Linked DNA regions of Homo sapiens: regions 1, 2 and 3 are each linked to region 4. Evidence: promoter capture Hi-C in human tissues and cell types (Jung and others, 2019). All regions are on one chromosome and are shown on one strand. The core of a region is centred on a gene start or on the middle of the fragment in contact, and the rest is flanking DNA. Distances in the headings are between cores, read along the strand shown. Region 1 holds the start of FAU (FAU ubiquitin like and ribosomal protein S30 fusion). Region 2 holds the start of CDC42EP2 (CDC42 effector protein 2). Region 3 holds the start of C11orf68 (chromosome 11 open reading frame 68). Region 4 holds the start of KCNK7 (potassium two pore domain channel subfamily K member 7).

Region 1 (3,414 bases), core at 410-2,909, 470 kb after region 4:
CTCAAAACAATTATGTAATACTCATTTTTCCTTTCCTTTATTTATTTTTATTATTTTTTTAGATAGAGTCTCACTCTGTCACCTAGGCTGGAGTGCAGTGGTGTGATCTCGGCTCACTGCAACCTCCGCCTCCCAAGTTCAAGCAAGTCTCCTACCTCAGCCTCCCAAGTAGCTGGGACTACAGGCACACGCCATCACACCCGGCTAATTTTTGTATTTTTTCTAGAGACGGGTTTCACCATGTTGGCCAGGCTTGTCTCAAACTCCTGACTCCAGGTGATCTACGCGCCTTGGCCTCCCAAAGTGCTGGGATTACAGGCGTGAGCCACCGTGCCTGGCCCATTTTTCTGTTAAAAACCTTTGTCTTCTTTTACCTCCCTGATAAGCACATAGTCTATACCCATTCCCGAATAAATATCCTTTTCTTTTAGAGTCTGTTATTTAGGTTGACATAAGATAGCACCAGTCTTTGGTTTTCCATGGTGCAGGGTACAGATGGGATGGAAAGGAGGCTCAGGTACTCTGAATGGTCTGCCTCTCAGGATTTCTGTGGGATGCAAAAGAGTATATGTACACTTCTGAAAAGTCAATCAAGCCTTTAGAAACTTAAGGCTTAACTTTCTGTCTCGGTTTTAGAAATAGATATTATTATATTGGCAGCGTGGCCTTGTTTGTACCTCCATGATTGCCTGGCTGGCCTTGCTAACCTAATCACATCTGTGACGGGATATAGTGATGTTTAATCTTATGATTGCCTTAAGAATTAAGGCAATCAGACGGGTTCGGCGGCTCATGCCTGTAATCCCAGCACTTTGGGAGGCCGAGGCGGGCGGATCACGAGGTCAGAAGATCCAGTCCATCCTGGCTAACAAGGTGAAACCCCGTCTCTACTAAAAATACAAAAAATTAGCCGGGCATGGTGGCGGGAGCCTGTAGTCCCAGCTACTCGGGAGGCTGAGGCAGGAGGATGGCGTGAATCTGGGAGGCGGAGCTTGCAGTGGGCCGAGATCGCGCCACTGCCCTCCAGCCTGGGCGACAGAGCGAGACTCCGTCTCAAAAAAAAAAAAAAAAAGAATTAAGGCAATCATAATTCCCCACGCACACTCATATGCTAGGACCCCGCCCCTTACCTGAAACGTTGTGGCTTATATAGACACTGCCAGGCACTGTGTTAAGTGCTCCCAAAGAGCACCCCAGTCTACCATTTTCCCTCTCGATTCTATATGTACACTCGGGACAAGTTCTCCTGATCGAAAACGGCAAAACTAAGGCCCCAAGTAGGAATGCCTTAGTTTTCGGGGTTAACAATGATTAACACTGAGCCTCACACCCACGCGATGCCCTCAGCTCCTCGCTCAGCGCTCTCACCAACAGCCGTAGCCCGCAGCCCCGCTGGACACCGGTTCTCCATCCCCGCAGCGTAGCCCGGAACATGGTAGCTGCCATCTTTACCTGCTACGCCAGCCTTCTGTGCGCGCAACTGTCTGGTCCCGCCCCGTCCTGCGCGAGCTGCCTGCCCAGGCAGGTTCGCCGGTGCGAGCGTAAAGGGGCGGAGCTAGGACTGCCTTGGGCGGTACAAATAGCAGGGAACCGCGCGGTCGCTCAGCAGTGACGTGACACGCAGCCCACGGTCTGTACTGACGCGCCCTCGCTTCTTCCTCTTTCTCGACTCCATCTTCGCGGTAGCTGGGACCGCCGTTCAGGTAAGAATGGGGCCTTGGCTGGATCCGAAGGGCTTGTAGCAGGTTGGCTGCGGGGTCAGAAGGCGCGGGGGGAACCGAAGAACGGGGCCTGCTCCGTGGCCCTGCTCCAGTCCCTATCCGAACTCCTTGGGAGGCCTGGCCTTCCCCACGTGAGCCGCCGCGACCACCATCCCGTCGCGATCGTTTCTGGACCGCTTTCCACTCCCAAATCTCCTTTATCCCAGAGCATTTCTTGGCTTCTCTTACAAGCCGTCTTTTCTTTACTCAGTCGCCAATATGCAGCTCTTTGTCCGCGCCCAGGAGCTACACACCTTCGAGGTGACCGGCCAGGAAACGGTCGCCCAGATCAAGGTAAGGCTGCTTGGTGCGCCCTGGGTTCCATTTTCTTGTGCTCTTCACTCTCGCGGCCCGAGGGAACGCTTACGAGCCTTATCTTTCCCTGTAGGCTCATGTAGCCTCACTGGAGGGCATTGCCCCGGAAGATCAAGTCGTGCTCCTGGCAGGCGCGCCCCTGGAGGATGAGGCCACTCTGGGCCAGTGCGGGGTGGAGGCCCTGACTACCCTGGAAGTAGCAGGCCGCATGCTTGGAGGTGAGTGAGAGAGGAATGTTCTTTGAAGTACCGGTAAGCGTCTAGTGAGTGTGGGGTGCATAGTCCTGACAGCTGAGTGTCACACCTATGGTAATAGAGTACTTCTCACTGTCTTCAGTTCAGAGTGATTCTTCCTGTTTACATCCCTCATGTTGAACACAGACGTCCATGGGAGACTGAGCCAGAGTGTAGTTGTATTTCAGTCACATCACGAGATCCTAGTCTGGTTATCAGCTTCCACACTAAAATTAGGTCAGACCAGGGCCCCCAAAGTGCTCTATAAAATTAGAAGCTGGAAGATCCTGAAATGAAACTTAAGATTTCAAGGTCAAATATCTGCAACTTTGTTCTCATTACCTATTGGGCGCAGCTTCTCTTTAAAGGCTTGAATTGAGAAAAGAGGGGTTCTGCTGGGTGGCACCTTCTTGCTCTTACCTGCTGGTGCCTTCCTTTCCCACTACAGGTAAAGTCCATGGTTCCCTGGCCCGTGCTGGAAAAGTGAGAGGTCAGACTCCTAAGGTGAGTGAGAGTATTAGTGGTCATGGTGTTAGGACTTTTTTTCCTTTCACAGCTAAACCAAGTCCCTGGGCTCTTACTCGGTTTGCCTTCTCCCTCCCTGGAGATGAGCCTGAGGGAAGGGATGCTAGGTGTGGAAGACAGGAACCAGGGCCTGATTAACCTTCCCTTCTCCAGGTGGCCAAACAGGAGAAGAAGAAGAAGAAGACAGGTCGGGCTAAGCGGCGGATGCAGTACAACCGGCGCTTTGTCAACGTTGTGCCCACCTTTGGCAAGAAGAAGGGCCCCAATGCCAACTCTTAAGTCTTTTGTAATTCTGGCTTTCTCTAATAAAAAAGCCACTTAGTTCAGTCATCGCATTGTTTCATCTTTACTTGCAAGGCCTCAGGGAGAGGTGTGCTTCTCGGGTTGGTGGTATGTCCCCTAGGAGAACAGTGAGGCAGAAAAGGCAGAAGCCTTTGGTATGGGGGGAAGAAATGGTAAACTACAAGAGAAATTTCCTGTGAAGAAACAGCTACAGATCCTGGGGGGCTTCAGATGTAAAATTGGGGTTATTCCCTATCCTAAGTAACTTGATCAGTCCCCCCAGGTCATTCTTTTTCATC
Region 2 (3,204 bases), core at 691-3,190, 280 kb after region 4:
GCCAGCATCAGCGGCCCAGGGGAGAGCTGGGAATTACAACCCTCACGCCCCAGGAATTTAGATTTGGCAACTGCAAGACCCTAGGATCCAGCTTGCCACGCACAGTTTCTCATCTTAAAGCTCCCAGTCACGGCATGGTGGGGTCATTACGGCCCTTTACAGAAGTCGAAGCTGAACCTCAGAGATGTTAAGTAACATTGGCGACGTCATCCAGTTAGGAAGTGGAAGAGTGGGTACCCAGCCTGGTCCACGTGGTTCCCATGCAGTGGGCCACGCCTACTTCCATAATATGTTTGGGGAGCGGGAGAGAAAGGGGCTCACAGCTAGGCTGGGAACAGTGGGTCCCCAGATCTCCTCCATCTACATCCTGACCTTTGGCTGCCCCCGTCTGCCCAACTTTCATGTGTCCAGAGATATGAGAATGAGGTCTCCATCAGGACAGGGCTGTGGGGAGCTGGGAGGGGAGCTCCCTGCAGCAGTCGGGGAGCAGATAGGAGCATCCTAGCTCTCTGTGATTGCCCTGGACAGGAGCCCTGGACCTCCCAATGAGAAAATGACTTCCGGCAGGCAGGGATCCTCCTATCATGAAGAATATTAGGCCACCTCACACCCCCTCTTCTCCTAAATCAGGAGACTGTCCTTAAATCCAGCTCCACCTGGGACTTCCTCAGTAACCTTCAGCAAGACGCCTCTCCTCTCTGGGTCTCACCTTTCCCATCTATAAAATGGGCTGACAACGAAGCCACCACTAAAGGGCCACTGGAGATCCCACTGCAATATTGCAGGTGAGAGCGCCAATGTACAATAGCGGGGTTCAGCGGGTCACTGTAGGTTTTATCATTCATTCAGCAAATATCTACAAGGCCTTCCTTCCTCAAGCACTTCGATTCTCCGGGGCCAGTGCTTTGAACAATAGCAAAAACGAAGGGCTCCTGACCCCAGGCGTCCACCTCCTCCCGCCCTCCTAGACCTCGAGGATGCAGAGACCCTCTAGCGGCCGCTGGGTCTCCCGGGGTCCCGGTGCCTCCGGAGAGGTGCCCGGCTCCGCGGCCGCCAGGTGGCGCGCGTGCTCCCTTGATCGCCTCGTGTCCCGGAGGACTCCGAGAGCGCACCGGGGTCTCCAGCGCCCCTCCCCCGGGCTCCAGGCAGGCGGTCCCCAAGGAGCTGCGCGTTCAAGTACCAGATGGGGATTACCTGCGAGATCTTTTTGCTTCGGGGTTTCTGGTCCCACAATCGGGGAAAAAGGGGGCGATTGGGGACCCTGCCCTAGTCTCCAAGCTCTGGGAGGAGCCTCCCCCCTGTGCTTTCCGGCCTGGGCGATGTCCTAGTGTCCGCTCGGCACAGGGCCAGAGCTCGGGCGTGCGGGCCCCCGCCCCTCCCACGGGTCCGGCTCCTTAGCTCCGGCTCGGGTTCCTGCGCCGACCCCTCCCCACTCCTACCCGGGCGGAGCCCAGCCCAGCCCGGATCCGTTTCAGGACATTCGCGGCCGCAGCTAAAGATAGGAGAACAACTCACTATCGGCTAAAAATACGGCCCCCAGCCCCGGTGGGGATGCTGGGCGGCGGGGCACCCCTGGGTCTCGGGAGGGGGGCGGGGGCCCGGACACAAAATGGAGGGCAGAACGGGGAATTCGGGGTCGGGATGCGTTGCGCCCCCACGGACCGTGGCGGGCACGGGCGAGGCTGCGGGAACCCAGATGCGGGTGGGAAGCCCCATGGAGCCCTAGGAGCCCTCGAAAGGAACTGAGTGAGGTGAGAGGCAGAGCCAGGGCGCGAGCTGGGGCGGGGCGCCACAGAGATGGGCCTCTCGGGGGACCCCCGCGAAGCTGCGAAAATCCCAGCCCGAACTCACCGTGAGGCGCGCAGACGGCAGACCGGCGGACAGCAAGGTCTCAGGAGCTGGACAGCGCGGCGGCCGGACCCGACCGGCGGTGAACTTACAGAGTGCACCGCGGACCCCGCAGCCCCGCCCCGGCCCGCGGAGCCAATGCCGGGGCCGCGCCAGCCAAGCCCCTCCCCATCCCCGCCCAGGCCCCGCCCCACTCCGGGCACCGCCCGGGGCTCCCGGCGTGGGAGGTGCCGCTCCCGGGTCCAGCGGTCGCGCGCGCCCTGGAGTCCTGTCCTGGTTCTGGCGGCTGAGGGCCGGGTGGCGCAGGCGGCCTCCGGCTGTGCCCATGGGAACTAAAACCTTCGGTTCTAGAAGAGCCGGGGGAGAGGCTCCGGGAAGACCGAATTCTTCAGAAATCGCAGAGAGACCTTGGACCGGATCCTTCCCTGCAGGGCTGCGTCGGGGAAGCGCCGGCACAAGTATATTCAGCGACTTCCTTGGAAGCGCCTACGTTAGAATACTACAAACTTACAAGCTAGTTGATCAGTTTACCTCCCACTAGAAAAGACAGTATGGGAAGGCAGAGGCCGCGTGGCCTGGACCCCCGTCTTTGCTGTCAGGCTTCCAGAGTGAAGGTGGGGCTCATATTCAGACTAGTTCCTGGTCCATTCATTCTTTCAGTCAGTCAGTCAGTCATTCCTACAGGGCCAGAAACTTTTTTTTTTTTTGAGACAGAGTTTCGCTCTTGTTGCCCAGACTGCTCACCGCAACCTCCGTCTCCTGGGTTCAAGAGATTCTCCTGCCTCAGCCTCCCGAGTAGCTGGGATTACAGGCATGTGCCAGCACACCTGGCTAATTTTTGTATTCTTAGTAGAGACGGAGTTTCTCCATGTTGGCCAGGCTGGTCTCGAATTCCCGACCTCAAGTGATCTGCCCGCCTCGGCCTCCCGAAGTGCTGCAATTACAGGCGTGAGCCACCGCGCCCGGCCCAGAAACATGTTTTGAAGGGCAGGCACCGCACAGGGTGCTGGAGACAGACTGAAGGAAACTGCACCTCTCAGTGACTCAAGAGAGATTTGTTGAGTATCTACCAAGTGCCTAGCGCTGTTCTTGTCCCTGGGGATTCAGCCTCTGGATTGGGACCTGCAGCCCAGAGAAGGGAAATGGGGGAAATCCAAGTTCCCAGGTACATCATGATACCCTTCCAGGTGGGTAAGTGCTAAGAAGAGTGGGGCAGAGGAAGTGGTGGGTAGTGACGGGGTGGACAGACCTCACTTTCTAGAGGATGACAGCTATGCCAGCTCAGTGTGACCAGGATGGTTGGCTTCAATGCTGTCAGTGTGGGAAGGGCTTTTAGGGAGGCAGAGCCGGGAAGAC
Region 3 (3,305 bases), core at 710-3,209, 320 kb before region 4:
GGCTCTGGGGAGTCTGCCAGCACCCTCCCATGCCTCTGGGCTGCTCACCTCTGAAAGTGGGCAGAGGGGTGGCTGGCCTGGGGTGGGGGTTGTGATGTCTCCTCTTCCCCATCAGTATCTGTGTCCTCAGATTCATCCTGTGAGCACCGCAGAGGTCAGAGTTGACAAGAAAAGACACGAACCCATCACTGGGAGTGGCAGGGACAGCAGTAGACCCTCATAGCCCCAATTTACAAATAAACCAGTGAGCAAACAGGTTGCAGAAAAGGATGAGAGCTGGCCTCCTGCCAGTTCAGCCTGGGGCGAGGCTGCCTGTCCCATCACCAAGGGCAGGGCGAAGGGCTGGGGCCTCACTCACCTCCTGCTCCGAGTCTGTCCCGGACAGCTTCTTGTCCTTGCTTTTCGTTCCCATCCCACCGTTCTTCCGGCCGCCGCTGCCTGGCTTCCGGCCCCTTTGGGAAGGTACAGTCCATCTGCCCGGAGTGCTCCCTACTCCTTGGCCACCCCCAAGCCCTGTGGCCTTGGCCTTCCCCACTGTATGCCAGGCCCTGGCCCCACCTGCGGGCGCCCTTGTCCCCATCCATGTGGTTGTCTTCCCCGTCCCCCTGCATGTCGGGAACAGATGCCACCAGGTCCTTCAAGAAGTCAAACTGCTGCTCCAGCTCGATGCACTGCTTCCTGGAAGAGGTGAGGAGGGGCTGGCACTCAAGAGGGGCCCAGACACCCAAACCCGCAGTGGGTGGCAGCAAGGGGCCCCAGATGTCAGGCTGGAGCCCGGGCCGATCTCCGCTCCCGGGCCTGCCCTGCTTTACTCAGGTGGCTCCCTCTGCCTGGAAGCCCAGCCTCTCCTCTGCCAGTCTGTGGCCTTGCTGGTGTCCCGGCTGCCGCCCACCTCCCTCGCCACCCAGGCTCTGCCTTCCTCAGTGTGTGAACTCCCCGCGCCAAACCCGCCGGCCCCTCCCGGCTCCTCGCCGCTCACAGGTGGGATGTGGTCATGGTCTTCGCGTTCCGCGACTGGGTCACCTGGCAGGCCTTCTTCAACAGCGACTCTAGGAAGAGCTCGAGCGCCCGGGCTGAGGAGCGTCAAGGAGAACTCCGGGGCAGGAGAGGGCGACCCGCTGCCTCCCTCCCCCACGCCCCTCGACCCGGTCCGCCCCCGGCAGGATACAGATGATGACAGGCACCGCCGCCGCCACCTTCCCAATCTCTTCGTCCGTCTGCATGATCTTCTTGATCCGCGCCTGCGGGTGGGGGAGCAGAGTTCAGACCCCGTCGCCACCGTCCCCTAAGGGGGTGCTGGGGGAGGAAGGGGCATCCCCGGAGAAAGGGGGCGGGGGACACGGACGCGGGGAGGGCATGGAGGGGGCGGGGCGTCCAGGCCCCCGAACACCGCGGCGCGCCCGCCTGCCCAGCGGGAACTGGGCCCAAGCCACCCGGGAGCCGGGCCCACTCCTGCCGGGCTCTGCCACGTGCTCACCGGCGGGAACCGCGCGTTGTACTTCTTCTTCTTGCTCGGCATCTCGGGGCCTCTCTCGCCGCGTCGGGTCCAGCGCCGCCGCCCGCAGCCTCCCGGCTCCCGGGCCTGCTCGCCGCCCGCCCGTCGCGGTTCCCCTGGGTCCTGGTGCCGCCCGCTCCGCCCCCGCCGTTTCCCGCGGAGTCCTAGCGCCGCCGGTTAAGACGCCGCTCGCAGGGCCCTAGTGCCCTCCTCTTGAAGCCTCCTGGCCGGTGCGCGTCCCTCCCCAGTCTGGACCGCCGCTCCCGCCCGCCCCCAAGGCCAGAAGAGCGAACGTTGGCCCCGCCCCCCGCGGCCCGCCCCTCCCGGGGTTCCCGCGATGGCCCCGCCCCCGAGTCAGCACCTCCCCGTCGGCCCCGCCCCTTCCCCTGCCGGCCCCGCCCCACAGCGCGGCCGCTGCGGCCGCTGAGGCCCGCGGCTCCGCCCTGTGGCTGCGCCTGTCTATAAAGTTGTTGTTGAGGTGGCGCGGCGCTAAGATGGCGGCGGCGGCGGCGGCGGCCGTGGCGGGGGTGGGGCGCGGTGGCGGTGGCGCGGAGCCACGGCAGGAGCGGAGCCGGGCCCGGGGCTGGGCCGGCGTCGAACGCAGCGAAGGCCGGAGGTGACTGCGGGCGGCGGGAGGGGCAGGGCAGGGCCGGGGCGGGAGCACAGCTCGGGCCCGTGGGCGTTAATGGCGGCGGGCGCGGCACGGCCGGAGCCTGGCTCTCCTGCAGGCTCTAACAAGCCCTGGTTCGAGTCTGGGAACCGCCCCATTGGCCTCGGAACGGCCTGTAACCTCTCTGGACTTCAGCGTCCTCGTCTGTAAGTGGGCCCGATAACGCCTGCCTGGGAGGCCTGGCCTTACAGAGCCGGCCTCGGGAGCTGCGCGAACGTGCGCTTCTTTGCGTTCCTCTATTAAATGCCAGCGCACCGGATACCTGCCAGGAAAAGGGGGCCTTGGCAGGGCCGGGAGGTGTAGCTGGGGCTGGTTGCTCCCACGCCTGGATTCACCCTTCGGCCCTGCCACGCACTGCAGGTGTGACCTTGGGCAAGTCCTTTTTCTCAGCCTCAGTTTCCTTTTCTGTAAGTCAAGGAGAATAGTAATAACTGCAGCAACCCTTCTGGAGCGCTGACTCCTCAGGCATCTAATTTTCATAGCAGATCTACGGGACAGGAACAGTTGTTATCCCATTGTAAAGATGAGGCAACTGAGGCGCATCGACAGTAACTCTTACTCAAGGCCACAGTTTAATCCAGTGCCTGGCATCTGTAGTTATTGTCTCAGACCCTGCCCTGACTCGGTTCCCTCACAGCAGGATGGAACCAGGTGAGGAGCTGGAAGAGGAGGGCTCTCCAGGTGGCCGTGAGGATGGCTTCACCGCCGAGCACCTGGCTGCAGAGGCCATGGCAGCTGACATGGACCCCTGGCTAGTGTTTGATGCCCGCACAACGCCTGCCACTGAGCTGGATGCCTGGCTGGCCAAGTACCCACCATCCCAAGTTACCCGCTATGGGGACCCCGGTTCACCCAACTCAGAGCCTGTGGGCTGGATTGCAGTGTATGGGCAGGGCTACAGCCCCAACTCCGGGGACGTGCAGGGCCTGCAGGCAGCCTGGGAAGCTCTGCAGACCAGTGGGCGGCCCATCACACCGGGTACCCTGCGCCAGCTCGCCATCACCCACCACGTGCTCTCGGGCAAGTGGCTTATGCATCTGGCACCGGGCTTCAAGCTGGACCACGCCTGGGCTGGCATTGCCCGGGCCGTGGTTGAAGGCCAGCTTCAGGTGGCCAAGGTGAGCCCACGTGCCAAGGAGG
Region 4 (3,596 bases), core at 561-3,060:
TCAAGGCTCTTCTCGGCCAGGTGCAGTGGCTCACTCCTGTCATCACAGCAGTTTGGGAGGCCGAGGCCGGCGGATCACATGAGGTCAGGAGTTCAACCTGGCCACATGGTGAAACCCCATCTCTACTAAAAATACAAAAATTAGCCAGGTGTGGTGGTGCATGCCTGTAGTCCCAGCTACTCTGGAGGCTGAGGCAGGAGAATTGCTTGAACCTGGAAGGTGGAGGTTGCAGTGAGCCAAAATCACGCCACTGCACTCCAGCCTGGGCAACAGAGCAAGACTCCGTCTCAAAAAAAAAAAAAACAAAAAACCATAGGCCGGGCATGGTGGCTCACGCCTGTAATCCCAGCACTTTGGGAGGCCGAGACGGACAGATCACAAGGTCAGGATTTTGAGACCAGCCTGGCCAATATGGTGAAACCCCGTCTCTACTGAAAAAAATATATATATATACAAAAATTAACCAGGCGTGGTGGCAGGTGCCTGTAGCCCCAGCTACTTGGGAGGCTGAGGCAGGAGAATAGCTTGAACCCGGGCGGCGAAGGTTGAGTGAGCCGAGATTGCACCACTGCACTCCAGCCTGGGCGACAGAGCGAGACTCCATCTCAAAAAAAAGAGTAGTAAGTTCCACCCACCTCCCAGTATGGTGACTTGCCATGGCATCTGGCACCCCTGACAGTTCTCTTCACACTGCCATGGGGGCTCTGGCACTCCCACACCATACCCTAGGGCAGGGTCCCTCCCTCGGCCTCTGTCCATTCTCTTCACACTGCCATGGGGGCTCTGGCACTCCCACACCATACCCTAGGGCTGGGTCCCTTCCTTGGCCTCTGTCCTCAGCCCCTCTGACGTTAGAGGAGTTGGAACCCAGGCTCCCCCTTCCCCTCTCCCAGGTGCCCCATGGCAGCCCAGACTCTGTGTCTGCAGTTCAGGGGCAGGGAGTCAGGAGGGCAGGCACAAAGCGTTCTCAGGAAGAACTGGCAATCGGGCGCAAGGGTATCATCTGCCCGGGTGCTCTGGGCACCCTGGAGTCCTCTCCCCACCTCCCACCCCCACCTGATCCTTCCCAGCTGCCACCATTCCTCTCCCACCACACCACCCAGGCCAAAATCACTCCATCCATGACGCCTACAGTAGCCCAGCGTAGGTCTCCCTGGACCACATTTATCCTCAAGGGCCTGTGTCCTTATCCCCCCTTCACCCCCAACTCTCCCCTGCCACAGCCAGCCCTCTGTTCCTCTCACACCCCAAGCTCATTCCTACCTTCACTGGCCTCTTACTCCCCAGCTGAAATATCACCTCCTTAGCAGAGCTTTCCCAGTGAGATAACCCCCCCGCTCCCCGCAGAGCTCTCCCATCACCCAGGGTGTTTCCTTCATGGAACTCATGACAATGTGAGGTTGCCATGTTTCTTTGCTAAGAGGTTTCTTGTGTAAACACCAGGAAGGAAAGGACCTGTGCCTGTCCTCTTCCCTAAGCACTTGAATGAATGAATGAATGAATGAATGTGGTATGGGTGCCTGAGTGAGCAGGACCTTGAATAAGTGTGAGGTCCTCTCTAGGCTTCAGCTTCCTCCGCCTCCTCCCCTCACCGCAGCCGCCTTCCTCCACCCATCCCCACCATCCCAGCTGCTGTGAAATGGGCAAATGTCTTGCCTCCAGGACCTGGGAAGGGTGATGCAGCTCACCTCCCTCCTGTTCACACCCCAGCCACCCCAGCCATCCCAGCCGGGTCCCAGCCACCCACACAGCACCTCCTCCTGGCCCCGCCCTGCCCAGCCCCTCCCAGGTGCCTGAGGTGGAGCCGCCAGTTCCCACAGCACCCCAGCGGCCTGCCATGGGGGGTCTAAGGCCCTGGTCCCGATACGGGCTCCTGGTTGTGGCCCACTTGCTGGCCCTGGGGCTTGGGGCTGTGGTGTTCCAGGCCCTGGAGGGGCCTCCTGCATGCAGGCTTCAGGCTGAGCTCAGGGCAGAGCTGGCAGCCTTCCAGGCAGAGCATAGGGCCTGCCTGCCACCCGGAGCTCTGGAAGAGCTGCTGGGCACTGCCCTGGCCACCCAGGCCCATGGGGTCTCCACCCTGGGCAACAGCTCAGAGGGCAGGACCTGGGACCTTCCCTCAGCCCTGCTCTTCGCTGCCAGCATCCTCACCACCACAGGTAAGAGAGCCAGGCAGCCAAGTCGGGGGGTGCGGCTCCAAGAGGCCATGGCTCCCTGGGGGCTTTGGGGTTCATGCAGCCCTTCCTTCAGCCCCAAAGAGCCAGATGGAGCCCAGGCCCTGTGAGGCCTGACATCACAGCTGGGGCTCCCCACCAACACACCCCAACTGGTGCCTCCACTTCAACTGCCAGGAAGGGTGTGGCCTCCCCAGTCCCACCCCAGGCACCCTTTGAGACCCAGGAGAGCTGCCCAGATGCCACAGCCTGTGGCCAGATAGGGGATACAATACAGTGGGATGGATTCTTGGATGGAAGCAAATAGAATGAACCTGGGAAGGACAGATCAGGACCATGGCCTCGGGTGGGGGAGTGAGGGAAGATAGGGGAGGAAGTCGGCATGAGATGCTTGTGGATCAGGAGGGCACAGACAGGGATGAGGGAGTCCTGCAGAGAAATCGCGTGGGCACAGGCCCAGGGAAAAGCAGCAATGAGACCCACAGCCCTGGGTTTTCGTATTTTTTGCCCCACAAAGTGTCTCAGTATTTTTTGAATTGGAATTTGTATTTCCAACTTTTTTTTTTTTTGAAACGGTGTCTGACCCTGTCACCCAGGCTGGGGTGCGGTGGTGCGATCTTGGCTCACTGCAACCTCCACCTCCCGGGTTCTAGCAATTCTCCTGCCTCAGCCTCCTGAGTAGCTGGGACTACAGGCATGCACCACCATGCCCGGCTAATTTTTGTGTTTTTAGTAGAGACGGGGTTTTGCCATGTTGGCCAGGCTGTTCTCAAACTCCTGACCTCAAGTGATCCACCTGCCTCAGCCTCCCAAAGTGTTGGGATTACAGGTGTGAGCCACTGTGCCCAGCTCATATTTCCAACTTCTTTTGGAAAATCAGGAAACCCACTCACACTGAGCCAGAATCCCTGCAAGGCAACATCCTGACTGGAGCAGAATGGGGCCTGCCCTTTGGATACAGCTCACACTTTCCAGTGTACCCCTGTCCCCACCACTCCTGTTTGTCTCCCATCTGGCTCCGGTAGGCATGTGCGTTTGCAGCTCTGTATTAGCTGATCCTGTTCTCCCAGCACACCCCGCACTCCCACCCCTCCCCGCCTGGCACATGCCCTCTCTCGCCCATGCTGCCTCTTTGCAGCCCTTCATGATTTGCCTGCCCGACTCCCCCACCAGAAGGGGCAGGGCCTGGGCTGATTCAGATCCCAGTACAAAGCCTGGCACACAGGACATGACACACATTTGGGGAAAGAGTGGATGATATTCCACCAGCTGTGGAATCGGGAGTATCTGTTAAGGGCAGCGCAGTTCTCAGAATTGTCCCAGCTACAAAAGGCCTGAGGAACTGTCTTCTTTCATCCTTTCATTTTCCAAAAAAGAAAAGAATGGCCTAGAGAGGGTAAGGGATCCCCTGACGAAGAGGAGCAG

Evidence for each region. Contacts are between HindIII fragments. The study calls those that stand out against the background at their distance.
Region 1: the fragment with the promoter of FAU here is called in contact with the fragment with the promoter of KCNK7 in region 4 in 1 of the 25 tissues and cell types used here (lymphoblastoid cells).
Region 2: the fragment with the promoter of CDC42EP2 here is called in contact with the fragment with the promoter of KCNK7 in region 4 in 2 of the 25 tissues and cell types used here (pancreas and spleen).
Region 3: a contact is called between the fragment with the promoter of C11orf68 here and the fragment with the promoter of KCNK7 in region 4, in 1 of the 25 tissues and cell types used here (dorsolateral prefrontal cortex).

Annotation. Positions count from the first base shown.
Region 1 is chr11:65,120,379-65,123,792 of GRCh38, reverse strand. It overlaps FAU (FAU ubiquitin like and ribosomal protein S30 fusion), which reads left to right and starts at 1,659. Exons shown (of 5, transcript NM_001997.5): 1 at 1,659-1,703; 2 at 1,972-2,054; 3 at 2,149-2,293; 4 at 2,757-2,812; 5 at 2,987-3,163. The coding sequence starts at 1,980. The coding sequence ends at 3,112. It overlaps MRPL49 (mitochondrial ribosomal protein L49), which reads right to left and starts at 1,472. Exons shown (of 4, transcript NM_004927.4): 1 at 1,369-1,472. The coding sequence starts at 1,446. RefSeq lists enhancers at 1,182-1,451, 1,612-1,701. The HindIII fragment of the contact is 8,684 bases long and covers 1-2,087 here.
Region 2 is chr11:65,313,602-65,316,805 of GRCh38, reverse strand. CDC42EP2 (CDC42 effector protein 2) reads right to left here and starts at 1,940. Exons shown (of 2, transcript NM_006779.4): 1 at 1,852-1,940. LOC105369344 (a long non-coding RNA gene) reads left to right here and starts at 2,117. Exons shown (of 3, transcript XR_007062727.1): 1 at 2,117-3,035. RefSeq lists silencers at 983-1,142, 1,313-1,442, 1,903-2,282. The HindIII fragment of the contact is 18,736 bases long and covers 1-3,204 here.
Region 3 is chr11:65,917,716-65,921,020 of GRCh38, reverse strand. It overlaps C11orf68 (chromosome 11 open reading frame 68), which reads left to right and starts at 1,959. Exons shown (of 2, transcript NM_001135635.2): 1 at 1,959-2,111; 2 at 2,803-3,305. The coding sequence starts at 1,990. DRAP1 (DR1 associated protein 1) reads right to left here and starts at 1,595. Exons shown (of 7, transcript NM_006442.4): 1 at 1,478-1,595; 2 at 1,169-1,241; 3 at 980-1,073; 4 at 559-678; 5 at 359-452; 6 at 49-137. The coding sequence starts at 1,519. RefSeq lists enhancers at 1,002-1,922, 1,923-2,842 and a silencer at 1,136-2,205. The HindIII fragment of the contact is 24,812 bases long and covers 1-3,305 here.
Region 4 is chr11:65,594,014-65,597,609 of GRCh38, reverse strand. It overlaps KCNK7 (potassium two pore domain channel subfamily K member 7), which reads left to right and starts at 1,810. Exons shown (of 3, transcript NM_033347.2): 1 at 1,810-2,156. The coding sequence starts at 1,838. The HindIII fragment of the contact is 18,543 bases long and covers 1-3,596 here.